Linked DNA regions of Homo sapiens: all the other regions are linked to region 1. Evidence: promoter capture Hi-C in 16 types of primary human blood cells and fetal thymus (Javierre and others, 2016). All regions are on one chromosome and are shown on one strand. Each heading gives the region's core, a stretch centred on a gene start or on the middle of the fragment in contact. The rest is flanking DNA. Distances are from core to core; before and after follow the strand shown. Region 1 holds the start of NDUFV2 (NADH:ubiquinone oxidoreductase core subunit V2). Region 2 overlaps ANKRD12 (ankyrin repeat domain 12). Region 3 holds the start of TWSG1 (twisted gastrulation BMP signaling modulator 1).

Region 1 (3,609 bases), core at 917-3,416:
CTTACTCTACTTGCTAGTCTCAGTATTGTTTTTTCTACACACGTATGACGTGTGTAATAAAAATTAAACTTATTCATCAACTCAAATATTTATTGTGTACATAGTGCATATCAGGTACTATTTGTTTAAAAAAGGGGGGAGGGTGGAAGGGGGAGGGAGAAGGGGAGACGGATGGAGAGAGAGAAGGAAGGAAGGAGGGAGGGAGAGAAAGAGAGTTCCAGAAACATTAAACCTGGATTACAATGGTCCTCCACTACCTCAAGTTGTTCTTTTTCATTAAAACTGCTTTTCAATTTATACTTCTAGCCCCTTTGCCTCAAAAACAAAAGAAACAAAATCTACAAGCACTCTAATTTCTTTTCTTTCTACCATGTCTGATCCTCATCATCTTTCACCTAGCATTCTGCAAGAGCCTCTTATCTACTTAGTCTCCCTGTTTCTGGGTCCAAATCAAACCCATTCCACCCTCAGTCCTATCCAGTGACCTATCCAAAACAGAAACCACATCTTATTCCTCTACTTTAAAACCTTTCACTGACTCCTGACGGCCTCTAAAATCAAATTCTTTAGTATGGCACGCCAGGAGCTCCAATATCTGGCCCCTGTCTCTCCCTTATTTCATTTGGGAACACACCTTACCTCCAACAGCAGAGGGTGGCTTCTCATACATACCGATCTTTTTCTTGCCAACAAGACTTTAAGTTGTCCTTTCCACCTAGAATACCCTCGGACCCCATGCCCAATCTGTTAGTATTACCTTCAGGAAAAATCTTATGCACCTTGAAACCACATTGGATGACCCTATTCATCTCTCTAACACTGTACTTTTACATTGTCTCAACCTTAAAGTTCCTCTTACATGAGACTATCAATTCCAAAAGAACGGGAACTGTCTAAATCTTTTCCTTATCTGTAATATGAGGAAAAAGTAATACCAGCCTCAAAAATGAGATGTGGAATGTAGATATTTAACTCGGTGCTTGGCATACAGAAAACAGTTATCAAATGACTATCATTATTATCCACACTGTTAACTAGAGCTCAGCAGTGCATGACGTACAGTAAGACTTCAAATGTTTATTGAAAGACTGAACTCTGCAAAAAGGAATATTCCCATTTTACAACTGAAGAAACTGAGGAAGATTAACAGCACAAAGTCATAGAGCCACAAAAGGCAGTTAAGCTAACATCCAAACTCGAGTCTAACTCTAAAGCCCTGAATTCATTCTCAATGAATATACACTAGCTCCCTCTTGCTGAGAACTGACTTAACCTATTTCACTCTTAGAAAACAAACAAAACTAAGGCTTCTTTCCAGTATTACTTGTGTAACAGGCCCTGTTGTTATAATCGACATTTCTGGAAATCTGCATTTTTAGATTAACGTGAAGGAGTGTTTCAACTTCTCTGCAATTCAATTTCCTTGCCTACCATGAGATGTACTTGGATCTCAAAAAGATCATTTAATCTCTAAAATCCTGTGGTTCTTTAATTGGGTGCTGTTATTTGCGGCGCCGTTCTTTCAGAGTTAGTTTGATACCGTTTATTTAGCCAGCATTTCCGATATGCAAAGCACAACTGCAGTAAATCAAACATTGGCCACCCTTTTCCAGCCCTAATGAAGTTCTCCCTAAGCCTTCACGAAGCAAGCCAGAGCTCTCCAGTATGCTGCAACCTAAAAGCATCGAGGTCACTAGGCTTGAAACGAGAGGTGCCTCCTTCGGAGCGACGGTCTTCGAAACTGATCTGGCCAGAGCAGGCCTAGATTCTGCGCTACAGCAAAACAGCAAAAACAAACAAACATATATATATATATCACCAAGCAGCCCCTCTTTTCTGTCCTCCTCGACCAAACTAGGAGTACACTTCCCAGTATGGCAACCCTCCCTCGGGGCTTCTCACGGTGGGGCTGCAGCGGCCTCCCTAAGAGGGCTAAGGCCGCAGTGTCCTTGCCGCCGCCTGCAGGCCCGTGCAGAGCCCAGGGCTCTCCTGCGCCCAAAACTAAGGGAGACACGGAGAGCAAGAGAAGGGCGGCGGCAGCGCCGGGCTCAGCTTGAGCCTCCTTACCCAGTGGGCGGTGAGGCCAGCCGCCCGGGCCCGGAGCGCCGCGGAGAAGAACATGGCGGGCCACACTGTTCACCTTCCCCAGCCGCGCCAGGCGAGAATCCCGAGCGCGCCCAGGGCGCACAGCGTGCGCGCTCCCGACCCCAGGCCTAGGCGACCCGGACGGCACGCCGCTCCCTTCGCCGAGGGGCGGGGGCTGACGGGAGGGAGCGAGGGCGCGCGGGGGCTGCTGGGGCCCTGTGGGCGGAGACTTCCCGGGGGAGGGGCGGGGACCAGTCCGTGCTCGGAAAGGGAGGTGTCCTACGGGCCGCTGCAGGGGTCCCGGCCTTGAAAAGAAGCGTCCCGGAGCTGCACCTTGGGCTCCTGGGTAACGAAGCGCCCGCCTGGATTTATAGGGGTGAGCTTCCCTCATGGAGAGCCTTGTGAGGATTAGCCACCTCCTCTTATATTGCTGTTAGTTAAAAATAAAGTCGGGTTGCAACCCACTATAAATCTTATTCTACATGTTACGAATTCAAGACACAGAGGGCTGCTATCCAGTGTGCTAGCCATAGACACCAAATGTCTTGGTTCCCAATCTTTTGCATTAGAGATATGTGCGACATATTTAGGGGTTAAATGGTATGATGTCTGGAATTTGCTTGAGAATAGTGGGGAGCGGGAGGTGAAAAATAAAGCAAGTTGGCCGTTAAGTAAGGCCATAGAAGCTGCATGGTCGTTCTTATTTACTATTCTCGGTACTTTTGTACATATTAGATATTTTCCATAATAAAGCTGAAAAAAAAACCCACTTCCTTCTTCATGTTTGTTTGGTTATCTCTGGAAATTCCAACAAGTATTTATTCAGTAACAGCTCTAATGTGCACAGCACTATTTCCTGGTGTGGACTTCCTCTTGATTTTTTACGTCACTGCCTTCTTTTCTGGAGTGTCACGTCCTGTACCCACCCCCTTCCTTTTGCCCATTTTCTTTGCTATAATAAACTTGTGAATAATTTCTAGAACATTCACAGCAGCACAGGGATTTTAAAAATTTATCCCTCATTAGTTTAAAAACTCAGAAATATTCCATTGCAACCCCTATGAATCATATTTCGCAAATCACAGAATTCAAGACACAGAGGACTGCTGCCCAGTGAGCTAGAAATAGATACCAAATGCCTTGGTTCCCACTCCTTTGCCTTATATTTTATGTTAGTTTGCCTCTCCTAAATTAGCTTCAGTATTTCCCTTTAAAAGGAAAAGACAGTCTGGCCCTTAATGTAAATGTATTTTGTTATAAAGTTACCTAAATACTTATACACCTGGCCGGGCGCGTGGCTCACGCCTGTAATCCCAGCACTTTGGGAGGCTGAGGTGGGCAGATCACGAGGTCAGGAGATCGAGACCATCCTGGCTAATACGGTGAAACCCCGTCTCTACTGAAAATACAAGACATTAGCCGGGCATGGTGGCAGGCGCCTGTAGTCCCAGCTACTCGGGAGGCTGAGGCAGGGGAATGGCGTGAACCCGGGAGGCGGAGCTTGCAGTGAGCCGAGATCGCGCC
Region 2 (3,380 bases), core at 142-2,641, 140 kb before region 1:
TTACTGATGATTTTTGTATCATTCCTTGAGGGACTTTGACCAAGCAATAATTCAGGCACATTCACCATGTGGAAAATAAATATTCTGAAAAATCAATACATAGCTGATGAACACATGAAACAATCAAGATCAGTGAAAATCAAAAAGGTTCTAGAAGGTGTGTTCTGCACTAATTAAACATGTAAGTTGAAATAAAATACCTCCCTTCTTCCGTGGGAAAATTTGTTGCAGCACTTCTTTCTAAAAGCAAGTTTATAACAAAGCTGCTTTTCATAGCTACAATTTTCAGAAGCGACAGCAATTAAAAGAATTAGTAGCGATTTTTGAGATTTCTTAATATCCAGAGGGCAGCCAAATATGTAATATTTAGAATAGCATAACAGTTAACATATCATATAAACAATTTTTACCTTTAAAATCTTATTTTCTTTCCTTTGAGACAGGGTCTCACTCTGTTGTCCAGGTTGGAGTACAGTGGTGCAAACACAGCTCATGGCAGCCTCGACCTCCCAGGCTCAAGTGAACCTCCTACCTCAGCCCCATCCCGAATAGCTGGGACTCCTGGTGCGTGCCACCATGCCCTGCTAATTTTTGTATTTTCTGTAAAGATGGGGTTTCACCATGTTGCCTGGGATGGTCTTGAACTCCTGGACTCAGGTGATTCACCCGTCTCGGCCTCCCAAAGTGCTGGGATTACAGGCGTGAGCCACTGCACCCAGCCTTAAAATATTACTCTCTTTCTCACCGAAGTTAATGCAATTTCAGCTATTATGATCTTTATTCCAGTTTAGACTGGACAAAAACGTTCAAAGGACTCTCAGTTTAGCTGGAAGATGGACTTACAAAAATTTTGAAAGCTGAAATTGACAGGAGTCAATTATGTTTTATGTTTTCTCCATTTTCTTAATCAGCTGTATCCTCAGTACCTAAGCAATGCCTAACCTATAATGAGTGCTCAAAAACAGCTGTTGAATAATTGAAAGAAGGAAAAGGAAGAAGAGGAGTTTAGATGACTCTCGAGTGTATGACTTATATGTGCAGATGAATGATGTTACACTAATTAAGATAGAACACGAAGAGGAGTGTAATGGTGGGGGTATGCTGATTTTTGAGATTTTGCTGAGGAAATCCAGGTGGAAATATTCAGAGAACAGCCAAATATGTAAGTTTGAAGCTTAAGAGAAATGTCTGAGATAGATGTATTTTAAAATCATTACATAAATGGTAGTAAAAACTCTAAGTGTGGGTGAAATTTACTTGAGAGAGTATGCAGCATGAGAAGAGGGTCCAGAAAGTAAAAATCTTGAGAAAACCAACACAGGGGTGTTTATGGAAAGGAAATGAGGAAGTTACGAAGACAAGAATCTAGGAGGAAATTGAGAAGGAAGAGTCTGGGGAGCTGGACGAAAGCCAAGGAGAACTTTGTCCCAAGAACCAAGGCAAGAGAATTTTAGGAAGAATATGGTCAACAGTGTCAAATTCTATGGAGAATTTCAAAGGATAAGGACTGAAATACCACTGAGGGGTCTGGCAGTGACAGCATGTGCAATCTTAGTAAAACTAGGTTCCATGGAGGAGTCAGTCTACAATGTACCTTAAGAAGCTTAGTTGTGAAGGGAAGGGCATAAATGATTAAATAAACGGGGATGCAGGGCAGGAGAAGATTTTGTTGAGTCTTGTAAATATATGTGTAAAAAAATTATCAATGATTGTGTCCGACTGTACTTTGACCTTTCCATCCATCCAAATCATCATCTCCTCTGCCACTAGCTACCTAAGACACGTCTCCTTAATGGCCTGGTATACATCCTTCCAGATTTCGCTCCATGCTAATAAAATTTTACACAAACATGTACGTAAACATACATACAGATTTTAAAAACACTGTTCATTTTACAAAAATGAGATATAACTATTCTTGATTTTTTGAACTCAACAATACCTTATAAAAATGTCTTCAAGTAACCCTACAACTCCAGGCACAGCACTGACATGCTTTTCCATGGCTGTGCAATAGTTTATGGTGAGGCTATACATTGATTTAATCAACCAATCCCCTAGTGATGGCTATATTTTTTGCCCCTAAAAAGAATGTTATAATAAACATAGGATACTCCCACAAGTTTGACTGCTAGATCATGAAGCATGAGTATTTTTAAGAGCATTTTTGTGATGGTAAATTTTGTACTTACACACAAGTGGACAGAATGTTATAGAGACAATTTGTCTCAGCTCCAGTGACCATCAATCTTTGACCAATTCACACCTCCATTCACCCCATCCATGTATCATTTTGAAGATCTTGTTCATATCCTATCATTTCATTGATAGATATTTCAAGTATGTATCTCTAGGACTCTTGAGTTTTGTTAGCTGTTGCTAGACTGTTTTTCAAAAAGATGGTAAAATTTGCATAACCTCCCTTTTTAACCCTTTCCTTATTAGGTAACCACTTCATAAGTTGTTGGTTTATTCTCCCACTATTTCTTTTTTTAAAATGTGTAAGAAAATATATGTATTTATATGCTTTTAAAATCTTTAAATGTTTGCAATTATCCTTTTACCCTGACAGGTGAGTAGTATCTCAGCCAGGTACAGGATTCTTATGTTGCAGTTCTTTTCTCTCAGTAGTCTATCTTCCAGTATTGCAAATCTGAAGTCCAGTGCCAACCTGACAGTATTTCTTTGCCCATAACTTGTCACTTCATAGCTAAAGAATCTGGCCAATGTATGTCAAGGGGTATATATGTGTGTTTTCATCAAATCAATCTGAAGCTCAGTGAACTTCAAAACTGATAGGCTTTTTCGGCTCAGAAAAATTTTCTTCTATTATTTGCATAAATATTATCTATCTTCCATCTGTTTTTCTCCTTTTTAAATTCCTATAAATAACTATTATACACGTTAGTTCTGTTACGTCTCCTGGATCTATTCCTTAGGTCTTTTACCTTTTCTTTCATGATTCTCTTTGAATTTTTGCTCTATGTTTTGGAGATTTATCTTATTTTTCCAGTCTAATAATTGAAGTCTCCAGTTGAATAATTTAAGTCTCCACAGTGACTATCCCCCACTTCATCAACTGAGTTTTAAGCTCAGAAAAGTATTTTTATGCTGTACTTGAATTTTCTTAAGTGCCCATTTTTTGTTGTTGTTGAAGCTGTTTCCTCTAATAGTTTCACTTAGGTGGGTTAACATTCTGTTTGTTTAAATTTATCATTCTCTCACTTTTCTAGGCAATCCTGGAGGGTTGGTAAGCTCACTTATTTTTATTGGATAGTGAAGAGGTGAAAATAGATACTAAAAGCAAAGTTGCCACCTTCACAATTTTTTCTATAGTTTTAGCTCCATTCGTTATTTCCTTCAAATATCGATGTCAATCC
Region 3 (3,706 bases), core at 521-3,020, 230 kb before region 1:
AGAATAAAGCAGCTCAAAGCAAGAAGTAGAGTCCACAGAGTCACTTCTTAAATAATTGAGCAAATAACAAAAGGCTGTTTAATTACTAATTGCATTAAAAACTCTAGGTAATTATTAGAATGTGACGATATTCTTTTTTTTTTTTTTCTTTTAGACGTTGTCTCGCTCTGTCGCCCAGGCTGGAGTGCAGTGGCGCAATCTCGGCTCACTGCAACCTCCGCCTCCCGGGTTCATGCGATTCTCCTGTCTCAGCCTCCCGAGTAGCTGGGATCACAGGAGCCTATCACCACGCCCCGCTAATTTTTGTATTTTTAGTAGAGACGGGGTTTCACCATATTGGCCAGGCTGGTCTCGATCTCCTGACCTCAGGTGATCCACCCGCCTCGGCCTCCCAAAGTGTGGGATTACAGGGGTGAGCTACCGCGCCCGGCCAAGATATTCTTTTAATTCTATTAGTACCACACATTCTTCAAAGTTATTAAGAAGATACTACAGTTCAAAAAGAAGAAGGAAAAAAGACTAGCACAAACACAGTCTGACAGGGGCCAAACAGTATACAGTTATTAAACTTTAAATACGGGAAGATATCATTTCTTCAGGTTAAAACACCTCCCTATCAAACATAATAAATTAAAATAAATGACTACTGACGTAAGAGGGATAAATAGTGAGTTTATGGGGGCATTTATGATTACTCTAAACTTTTATTCTAAGTGTTACAAAGTACATTAAAGGAAAAATAATAAAAGGGTGAAAAGAATAAAGGGCTTTGGACCTGGTATGAGTCAATTTTGAAAGAGAAAACCCTGGTGATCGTTACTGAGGCTCACAAAGCATTCCCTAAAGACCGTTAGTAACTAATTTTCTAATGTATCTAACGCCGCATACCAAGTAGGATGATTTCTGGAGCAACCAGTACATATTTGCGGAGGCCAAATAAGGTTATTTGGAGACTAACTGTCGTGGAACTAGTTTTCATCCTACAACCATGAAAACTGGGATTTCCCCCCTTTCCCATCTTTTACGGTTGTCTTATGAAATGTTCCACAAATTCATCTTACTCCCCAAATTTCACTGGAAAAAGTATTCAAGTAACTACGACCATGTCGAAATCAGGTAATAGAATTAAAGGACTTATCTTTTCCTAAGGAGTTAGAAACCATCATGCATCAAAATTGTTTCGCATACATCACGCCCAAGTTTCTCGTTAAGGGAGATGGCACTGACAGCGACCAGGGCAGAGCCGAGCCTCTGTAGAGCGGTGCCAGGGCCCCGAAGGCGCCGGACGCCCCGCGAGGCAGAGGCCGGTAGCGGTGTGGGGGACCGGGCACCCGGAACCACCCCCACCCCGGCTCGGCCGACGCGGGCTGCGGAGGACGCGGGCCGGCCCAGAGATGGTCTGGACCAAAGCGGCGCAGAGATGCTGCTGGCTCCCGGCGTCCGGCCTGTGCGCCCGCGCCCAGCACCCCCACTTTGTCCTCCGCGCAGCCGGGCCCAGGCTTCTCCCGGCCCCCGCGAAGCTCGCCGCGGCCCCGGGCCTCTAGAGGGCCGAGCTCGGCGCCCGGCCCCTTCCCAACCAAGAGGCCAAGAGGCTGCACAACCCCCCAGCCGCTCCCACTCACCATGCGCCACGGTCCCGCGAAGTCGCCCACCCCTAGATCCCCGCCGGGTCGGCCGAGCCCGGGGCGCGCTGCGGCGGCTTTGAGTGCGAGGCCAGGCCGCGCCTCCCGCCGTCCCCTCAGCGCAGCGCCCGCGAGCCTCGGGCACCTTAAAGAGACAGGCCCGCCCGCCGCCCTCCTCCCGGCTCCTTGCTCCCCGCCCCTGCTCCCCTCTTCCCCTCCGCCCCCGCTGGGGTCCACAGCCGCCAGCTCCCGCCAGGAGGCGTCTCTCACTCCCCCGGCGCTCCTGTCAGCGCGCACGCCCCCATCTCGGCCCCGCCCACTCCCCCCGCCCCTCCCAACGCCACGCCCCCTCCGCGCCACCCGGTTTCGCCCCTCCCTCGTGCCACGCCTCCACCGCAGGCTCCCGCCCGCCCGCCGGCCCGCAGGCCACGCCCCCAGGCGCACCCACCCCAGCTGCTCAACGCGATTTCCCTTCGCGCTTCTCCGCACCGGGATCCCCAGTCCCTCAGGTTCCGACAGACCCTCCTGTCAGGCCCATTCTCCGGGCCCCCTCAGTTGCAGTGTTAAGATCAACAGTGTTAAGATTAAAGCCTTGTGATGTGCTAGCCACTACGCTGAGGATATGCCGTGTACTAAAATTCCTCAGGACTCCTCACAGCTGCCCTGTAAGGAAGCGGCCATGGCCGGGTTCTAGCGATGCGAGGCCGAGGCTCGGGGCGCTGAGTAGCCTAGCGCGTCGCCGAGGAGAGCTGGCACGTGAACCCCTTGTCGTTTGCCGTCAGAGGTAGGATTTATATAAAATGCGCGTTTCCTAGGTCTACCTCAGACCTACTGAATAAGGATCTCCAAGGGTAGAGCTTTCGAACTTCGTTCACCAATTCGATAAAACTTGCCAGGCTCCTTGTGAGTGGCTGGCGCTGAGCTCTGCATCGGAGCTCTGCATCGGGAGTCGAGAAGAGGGGGCGCCATGGATCCGGGCGCGGAGGTCGCGCAGCCTAGGTAGAAGGTGCGCGGTTAGCACGTAGGTTAAAAACATTGAGAATGACACTCAGTTCTTTCCCACAACTCTGGGTTGCTTTTTTTTTTTTTTCTTTTGAGACAAGGTCTCACTCTCACCAGGCTGGAGGGCAGTGACAACATCAGGCTCGCTGCAGCCTCCACCTCCTAGGCTCAAGCAATCCTCCCGCCTCAGCCTCCCGAGTAGCTGGGGCTACGGGCGCGCACCACCACGCCTGGCTAATATTTTATTTTTTTGTAGATATGGAGGTCTTGCTATGTTGCCCAAGCTGGTTTCAAATTTCGGGGCTCAAGCGATCCTCCCACCGCGGTCTCCTAAATCGTTGGGATGACAGGTGTGAACCATAGTGCCCGGCCGGAATTTGCTTTTTAAAGAAGATTCCAGGGTGATTAAGTTAGAGCCCGCTAGACCAGACCGTCCGCGGGGCACCTTCCCTTGGAAATGATGACCTAGTGTCAAACCCTTATGCTGGTAAATCGTAAATGCCTACCACCCACCTTTGTTGATTGGAAGGAAACAGAATGAAAACAGCTGATTGGCTGGGGGTGGATTGCATTACTGATGTTAGCCCACTTTTGTACAATAAATATGGGTTTTAAAAATCATCCTTGAAAATTATCCTAGAGAAATAATTAAGGGTATACCCAAATTTAAGTATAAGAATCTTATTCTTGGCATTATATACTAGTTAAGTGAATTAGGAAACTTCCGATCAATGCACTAATTCAGCCATTAAAAAGTGATACCGCAGATCAGAGGTTCTCAAACTTTTTCGTCTCGGAATCCCTTTACACTCCTGAAAATTATGGAGCATGCCAAAGAGGTTTTGTGTATGTGTGCTACATCTGTTAATACTTTCAAAATTAAAACAATTTTTTACATATTCATTATTTCATTTAAAAATAACAAACCCATTATATGATAACAAATATTTAATGAAAAATAAGTATATATTTTAAAACAGTAGGAAGAACAGCGTGGTTTTAGATTTTTGCTATTGCCTTTAACATCAAACTTAATAGCCACTGTTTTTATATCTGCTTCTGTATTCAAACTGTTGCAGTAT

The links. Contacts are between HindIII fragments. The CHiCAGO score rates a contact against its expected background, and 5 or more counts as called.
Region 2: a fragment that was not itself captured here is called in contact with the fragment with the promoter of NDUFV2 in region 1 in 2 of 17 cell types (total CD8 T cells and activated CD4 T cells); the score reaches 6.5 in total CD8 T cells.
Region 3: a contact is called between the fragment with the promoter of TWSG1 here and the fragment with the promoter of NDUFV2 in region 1, in 13 of 17 cell types (neutrophils, monocytes, fetal thymus and 10 more). The highest score is 21.2, in neutrophils.

Annotation. Positions count from the first base shown.
Region 1 is chr18:9,101,256-9,104,864 of GRCh38, reverse strand. NDUFV2 (NADH:ubiquinone oxidoreductase core subunit V2) reads right to left here and starts at 2,166. Exons shown (of 8, transcript NM_021074.5): 1 at 2,068-2,166. The coding sequence starts at 2,121. RefSeq lists an enhancer at 1,097-1,806 and a silencer at 2,079-2,438. The HindIII fragment of the contact is 6,653 bases long and covers 1-3,609 here.
Region 2 is chr18:9,236,181-9,239,560 of GRCh38, reverse strand. All of the region lies in intron 8 of ANKRD12 (ankyrin repeat domain 12), which reads right to left. Among named protein-coding and RNA genes, the nearest start is that of TWSG1-DT, 97 kb to the left of the region's middle. The HindIII fragment of the contact is 429 bases long and covers 1,177-1,605 here.
Region 3 is chr18:9,332,837-9,336,542 of GRCh38, reverse strand. It overlaps TWSG1 (twisted gastrulation BMP signaling modulator 1), which reads right to left and starts at 1,770. Exons shown (of 5, transcript NM_020648.6): 1 at 1,623-1,770. TWSG1-DT (TWSG1 divergent transcript) reads left to right here and starts at 2,074. Exons shown (of 3, transcript NR_183523.1): 1 at 2,074-2,406. RefSeq lists enhancers at 1,170-1,219, 982-1,482 and a silencer at 1,280-2,069. The HindIII fragment of the contact is 11,774 bases long and covers 1-3,706 here.